Regions from separate parts of the Homo sapiens genome. Here region 2 is linked to region 1. The links are contacts of gene promoters, found by promoter capture Hi-C in human tissues and cell types (Jung and others, 2019). All regions are on one chromosome and are shown on one strand. Each heading gives the region's core, a stretch centred on a gene start or on the middle of the fragment in contact. The rest is flanking DNA. Distances are from core to core; before and after follow the strand shown.

Region 1 (3,531 bases), core at 715-3,214:
GCTGGAGCAGGGCTGTGTCCAGGGACTTCTGCAAGGGCACCTGGCTCAGGGTCTAGTCCAGAATGCTATGGGCCCCTCAAGGCGACCAAGCTCCCCTACCTCAGATGCACTTGCACTCACATGTCTCACAGTCTTGGGTCTCTTGACTTCAGTGATAGCCCCACCACGCAAGTACCGAGAGAAAGTTGTTGTGTCTCCAATCTCCAGGGACCCATCCTCTGAGGGAGTTCCAGTCTAGTCAGTAATGATCCTTGAGCCTGAGTAGTTCCCACACCCCATCCTATCTTGCATCTGTGTCCCAGACCTTGCTGCACCTTGTAGAAGGTGGAGGGAGAAAAACCCATCCCAAGGGCCAGGCTGTGCTCACTTCCAGTGGAGGCTTGGGCCCTGCACCTGGAATTGGAATGGGATTGGCTTACCCCGCACGTGGATAGACCGGGGATCACAGTCGTTGAGCTCAACCATTCCCTCAATTCCCGAGAAAGTCACCAAGTCTCCATCACGGAAGTAGTGGGTATTGGCCCCTTTCCTCAGAGTGAGAATGCCAGGGGAGCCCTGGGTAGGAGGAGGCTTGGCTCAGGGTTGCCTGGACCTGCCTTCCACAGGCCCTGGCAGCCTCTCCTTGGTCAGCAGGTGAATGCCTACAGCTCAGCACCCACCTGGGAGATGTGCTGGATGGCAGCTGTCAGGGGTTCTGCCTCTGTGGGGTCCTGCACAGTGAAGTCCTCACCAAAGTCACAGAACAACTGCCTGAGATGGGGTGGTAGGGGTCACTGAGGTGGCTTACAGATTGTACTTAAGGATAGGGGATACTAGGGCAGGGCCAGAGGGCCAGAATTGGGAAAGGAATGCAAGGAGAGGCTTGGGAACTAGAATTTGAGAGGGTTACTGGAGCAGGTCTGGAGGCTAGGTTGGAGGAACCAGAGGGCAGGACTGGGGACCAGAATCAGAAAGGCATGCTGGGATAGACCTGAGGCTGGTTGGAGGGGCACTGGAGCAAGCCTGGAGCTGAGGACAGCATGAGGCCAGTTGCTGGCTGTAATATGGTAGGCTGGGCAGGCAGTCTTACTCACCCCACGAGGCCCCGGGTGTCAGCCGCCAGAAAGCAAACTCCATGCTTATGACACAAGGTGCCCACCTTCAGCTGCTCCTCCAGCTTTGCAGCAGTCAGCACCACCACCTGGGTGGACACAGTGATCAGCAGGGCCAAAACCATTGCCCAGCCCTTCCTGCTCTTGAGGGCTGCAGGCCTGAGCTGACCTGGAAGTCCAACAGCAGGTCCTCAGTGATGTCACCCGTGTGCACGACGACCTGGACAGCTCTGTTGAGCTGAGCCAAGAGCTCTTGAGAGGCCTCGGCTCTGCTCCTTTCCAAGTCCTGCTCTGAGAGGAGAAACTAGGGAGAGAGCCAGTGCAGCCTGAGCAAAGACACTCCTCTTGGGCCGTGCCCCCACCTTGGTCTGGCAGCCCATAGCCCCCCAGGACACTTACCTGGGCAGCCAGGTCGGACCAGCAGGTGGGGTGGGGATCATGCAGAGTGAGGCTGCCCACACCCATCAGAACCAAGTTCTTGGCCACCTCGGCCCCCAGGCCCTGCAGGCCTGACACCAGGACCCTGGCTCCCTGAATCCTCTGCATGGCAGGTGAGCCCAGCACATACCTGTGGATGGGAAGCAGAAGGCAAGCAGTTGTAGATCAAGGTCTGAAGACCATCCCACTCTCCACCCCCCACCTCGGGCCTCACAGCTGTCTTGAATACAGCTCCTCATCCAGTAGCTTCGAAGCGTCCAGGGCATCCATCCTCAAACCTGGGGCTGAACAGTAGGCTGCAGCGCTCAGAGATAGGGTCTTTGTGTAGGTGGCGGTGACAGTAGGGGCCAGTGCCCTGCTGTAGCCAGTGCAAACAGGAACCAAGGCCAAGCGAATAAGGGACGCTGCTGGTCACAGCTCTCTTCCTGGAGAAAAGAAAAGTGAAAGTTAAACTATGCTCTGAGCTGGCTCCTGATCCTGCCTCCAGACGCCAGCCCCAGACAGGCCATTCAGGGTCTAAAACCTGGGATGAGTTCCAGGACTCTCAAGAGGTGATCAGTCTCTGAGTGTCAGACCTGAGGGTGGGAGGCATGGGGCAGCCACATTCACACATGTTCTTATTTTCCTTTTAGACTTTTATTTTGAAATAATTATAGACTCATAAGAAGTTGCAAAAAAAATAGTGCAGAGAGGTCCTGTGTCTCCTTTTGCCTTCTTAGGAACCTGGGGCCAGTTCTCTGGGAGATGGACCACTGTTTGTCACGAAACTACGTAATAGCCAAACCAAGTGCTGTCTTAAGTTCTTTTTTGTTGTTGTTGTTAATTTAGGTGAAATTCATGTAACATAAAGTTAACAATTTTAAAGTGTACAATTCAGTGGCATTTAGTGCATCCACAGTGTTGTTCAACCATCACGTCTATCTAGTTCCAAAATATTTCATCACCCACAACGAACATACCAAACACATTCAATAATTACCATACATGTGGCCGGGCATGGTGGCTCACACCTGTAATCCTAGCACTTTGGGAGGCCAAGGCGGGTGGACCACCTGAGGTCTGGAGTTCAAGACCAGCCTGACCAACATGGTGAAACCCCATCTCTACTAAAAGTACAAAAATTAGCCAGGCATGGTGGTGCATGCCTACATGTAATCCCAGCTACTCGGGAGGCTGAGGCAGAAGAATTGCTTGAATTCGGGAGATGGAGGTTGCAGTGAGCTGAGATCGAGCCACTGCGCTCCAGCCTGGGCAACAGAGTGAGACTCAGTCTCAAAAAAAAAAAAAAAAAAAAAAAGAATTGCAAAATGTGACCTCTTATGTCTATTTCCTTTCACTTAGAATGTTTTCAATGTTCATAGAGTTTATAGCCTGTATCAATATTTCATTCCTTTTAATGGCTGAATAATAGTCCATTATATGTATATACCACAATTCGTTTATCCATTCATCTGTTGATGGACATCTGGGTTATTTCTAACTTTTGGATTTGTGAATAGTGCTGCTATGTCCTTTTTTTTTTTTTTTTCTTTTTGAGACAGTCTCACTCGGTTGCCCAGGCTGGACTGCAGTGGCACAATCACAGCTCACTGCAGCCTCGATCTCCTGGGGTCAAGTGATCCGGCTGCCTCAACCTCCCAAGTAGCTGGGACTAGAGGTGTGCACCACCATACCCTGTTAAAGTGGTTTTTGTTTGTTTGTTTGTTTTTGAGACAGGGTCTCACTCTGGTTGCCTAGGCTGGAGTGCAGTGGTGTGATCATGGCTCACTGCAGCCTCAGTGTCTTGGGCTCAAGCAATCCTCCCACCACAGCCTCCTGAGTAGCTGGGACCACAGGCATGCACCACCACATCTGGCTAATTTTTCTTTTTTTTTTTTTTTTGAGACGGAGGCTTGCTCTGTCACCCAGGCTGGAATGCAATGGCACAATCTTGGTTCACTGCAACCTCCGCCTCCTGGATTCAAATGATTCTTCCGACCCAGCCTCCTGAGTAGCTGGGATT
Region 2 (3,216 bases), core at 469-2,968, 50 kb after region 1:
CACAAAACTCCTCACTGCAGCCGACAGGCACCCACTCAGGCCTGGCCTTAGCATCAGCTGCACTCCACTGCCACTTCCCTAGCCCCTGCTCACCAGCCCACCCAGCCTTGCCTGACAGGCCCGGCACTCACGTCTTGATGACCTGTCCCAAATCATATCTGTCAGTCACCTCCGATGGCTGGTTATAGTTCTTCTTGTCGCCCAGAGTCACACACCCAAACGGCATTGCCAGGCTCTAACCTGCGGGCACAATGGGGTCTGGCTTAGCTGTACTACTCTCCACTTCCCCACAACATAGGGGCTGCTTTTGGGAGACCCCAACCTGGCTCAGGCCAAGCTAGGGGCAGAGACCATACCAGGAGGGGCTAGAGGATAGGCAGGCTTAGATCCTACCCCTGCTTTTCTGGCTAGACATCCAGCTACTCAGCTTGGCTGCCTGAAGTGCAACAGCCTACATATGAAAAAATGTATTAAGCTGATATATAAGGGAATAGTTTTGTATTCTATACATTCAAAAAAAAGGCTTATCAAACAGTTTATTTAAATTTCAGCTATTTTACAGATGAAGGGGGCTATAACCACCCACCCACCTGCTAGTCATCTCTGAAGGTCTAGAGCTAACAAGTGTTAGTGGATATATGAAGAACGTGAGCACTGCTAGGAGAGGGCAAACTCCCCTTTGTAAAGCAGTTTGGTAAAACCACTAAAGTCAAACAAACATACCCTATGAACCAGCAATTGCACTCCTAAATACGTGCCTACAGAAGTGCACATATTCGTGCATCAGGACAGTCATACAATGCTCATAGTAGCCATATACATAATCGCCAAAAATTGAAAACAGACCAAATACCACCACCAACAGGATGTATTGTGGTAGAGTCACACAATGGAATATTATATAGCAATGGAAACAAAGGAGCTACAGCTATACCCAACCACCTGGTGACTCTTACACAGTGTTAAGTGCAAAAAGACACAAAAGAATACATATAGTATGAGTCTATTGATAGAGTTCAAACAGGCAGAACAAACCCGTAAGGGGGATACAAACACAGCAGTAGAGCTATAAAGAAAAGCTAGGAAATAAGCAGAGTCAGATAATGGTCCCTTCTAAGAGAAAAGGAGGGGTTATGATTGATTCAGGACACATGGGGGGATTCTGGAAGACCTATTTCTTTTCTTTTCTTTTCTTTCTTTCTTTCTTTTTTTAGAGACAAGTCTCACTATGTTGCCCAGGCTGGAGTGCAGTGGCTATTCATGGGCACAAGCCCACTACTGATCAGCACAGGAGTTTTGACCTGCTTCGTCTCTGACCTTGGTTGCTTCACCCCTCCTTTAGGCAACCTGATGAGCTCTAGCTCCCAGGAAGTCACCATACTAATGCCAAACTTAGTGTAGACACCCAACTGGCATAGCGCACTGCAGCCCAGAGCTCCTGAACTCAAACGATCCTCCCACCGCAGCTGGGATTACAGGCACCCGCACCATGCCCAGCTGTTCTGTCACCCAGGCTGGAATGCAGTGGCACCCAGGCTGGAATGCAGTGGAATGATCACAGCTCATTCCAGCCTCAACCTCCTGGGCTCAAGCGATCCTCCCACCTCAGCCTCCTGAGTAGCTAGGACTGGACCATAGGTGCACACCACCACAACTGGCTAATTTTTAAAAATTTTTTTGTAGATACAGGATTTCATTACGTTGCCCAGGCTGTTCTTGAACTCCTGGGCTCAAGTGATCCTCCCACCTCAGCTTCCCAAAGTGCTGGGATTACAGGCATGAGCCACCATACCTGGCTTGGGTAAATTTTTTAAAGTTTACATACTGATGTACCCTCACAAACTCTTTTCTGGAAGAATACTGAAGGAAATAAGAGTTCTCTCCTGGGCAAAGAATTGGATGTCAAAAAGGCAGACATATCTTTTGTTTACTAATTTTCTGTGCGAATTTTTACTATTTTACTATAATGACTTCGATGAATTTAGTAAATACTGCACTCAGGCACAGTGCTTGGGGGATTCCTCAGAGGGATAATCTGGGTGGAGAGGCAAGGTAAAGCTTTGGAGGCAGCATTAGGACTCAGTAGGAAAAGATTTGCCAGGAGGTATGCAGGTGTACTGGTCAGGAAGAGCAAAACAAGCCTGATCCTGGTCCCAGCTTTCGGCTCTGCATATGCATTCATGCCCACTGGGGCCCACAGGGGACCTGGGCTGTCAGGTCCAGGTGCAAGGCCCCCAAACAGAACAGATATAGCTGGCTCAGTGAGCGCTAGGCACTCTTTCCACCTGGGGCACGGTGTCCCACAGGTCTGCAATCCTGCCAATTACAGCCCAATCCTCATCTGTAGTGCTAGGGGGGCTGACTCCAGTGTCCAAAGGAAAAGGCACTCATAGCCCATGCTCAAAGCTGGGGGTGGGGGGTTACTGACTAGACCTTCACAGATCTGACGCCAGGGTGTGCCTCCATAATACCCGGTCAGTGTGACACTGGGGCTACAGCAAGCTCTGCACTGAGGCTGCGCTGAAATTGCTCTGCCTCTGCTGACTGTGCATGTTTTCCCTCCATGCCAATTAGCACTTGCTGTGTGCAGGGCCTGAGCTAGGGCCTGGGGGTACCTAGATGCTCCCCGACCTGAAGGCACTCACAGCCTCAAGGTAGTGGAGAAGGGAGGAGGCAAAGGAGGCAGCTTGGCAAGATGAACTCTGCCAGCCAAAGTCAAAGACCAGGACCCAAACGAGCCCCATAGCCAACCCTGGCTGCTACTTGCTTCCTCCCAGGCAGAAGCCAGCCACCAGGCTGTGATTCCCAGGAGTCACAGCCCTGGAAATTCTCCCTCAGATTTGCCTTCAGCATTAGGGAACAAACTCTATCATTCCTTCATCTGGGTTGCTTGGGCTCAGGGAATACAAATGCATTTCATCAGCATTATTCCAGACAGGGTTTAAGCCATCTTGCGAGGCACAGCAGAGACAAAGGAGAGGCTTTGAAGATCGTCACTGACTGCATGTCTGCCACCATGGGCACAACCCTGCACTCCTCCACTGGGGAGAAGCATGTGGCCAGAATCCCATCCTCACAGCTGAGAGCAGAGGCATAGCCAGTTACCATTGCCGGCTACACATTTTCACACCATAACAGCTGCAGGAGGGGGCCTGCAACAGTCATCTCAGTCTGAGGGCCGTGTACTGGGCAGGAGGATGGTACCTTAGCCTGCAG

Evidence for each region. Contacts are between HindIII fragments. The study calls those that stand out against the background at their distance.
Region 2: a fragment that was not itself captured here is called in contact with the fragment with the promoter of UBA7 in region 1 in 1 of the 25 tissues and cell types used here (pancreas).

Annotation. Positions count from the first base shown.
Region 1 is chr3:49,811,989-49,815,519 of GRCh38, forward strand. It overlaps UBA7 (ubiquitin like modifier activating enzyme 7), which reads right to left and starts at 1,965. Exons shown (of 24, transcript NM_003335.3): 1 at 1,744-1,965; 2 at 1,491-1,659; 3 at 1,261-1,395; 4 at 1,074-1,180; 5 at 660-750; 6 at 420-555; 7 at 121-218; 8 at 1-28. The coding sequence starts at 1,799. RefSeq lists an enhancer at 1,699-2,088. The HindIII fragment of the contact is 21,739 bases long and covers 1-3,531 here.
Region 2 is chr3:49,862,163-49,865,378 of GRCh38, forward strand. CAMKV (CaM kinase like vesicle associated) reads right to left here. Exons shown (of 11, transcript NM_024046.5): 2 at 132-240; 3 at 1-14. The coding sequence starts at 226. It also overlaps the pseudogene RN7SL217P. Among named protein-coding and RNA genes, the nearest start is that of CAMKV, 6.1 kb to the right of the region's middle. The HindIII fragment of the contact is 9,007 bases long and covers 1-3,216 here.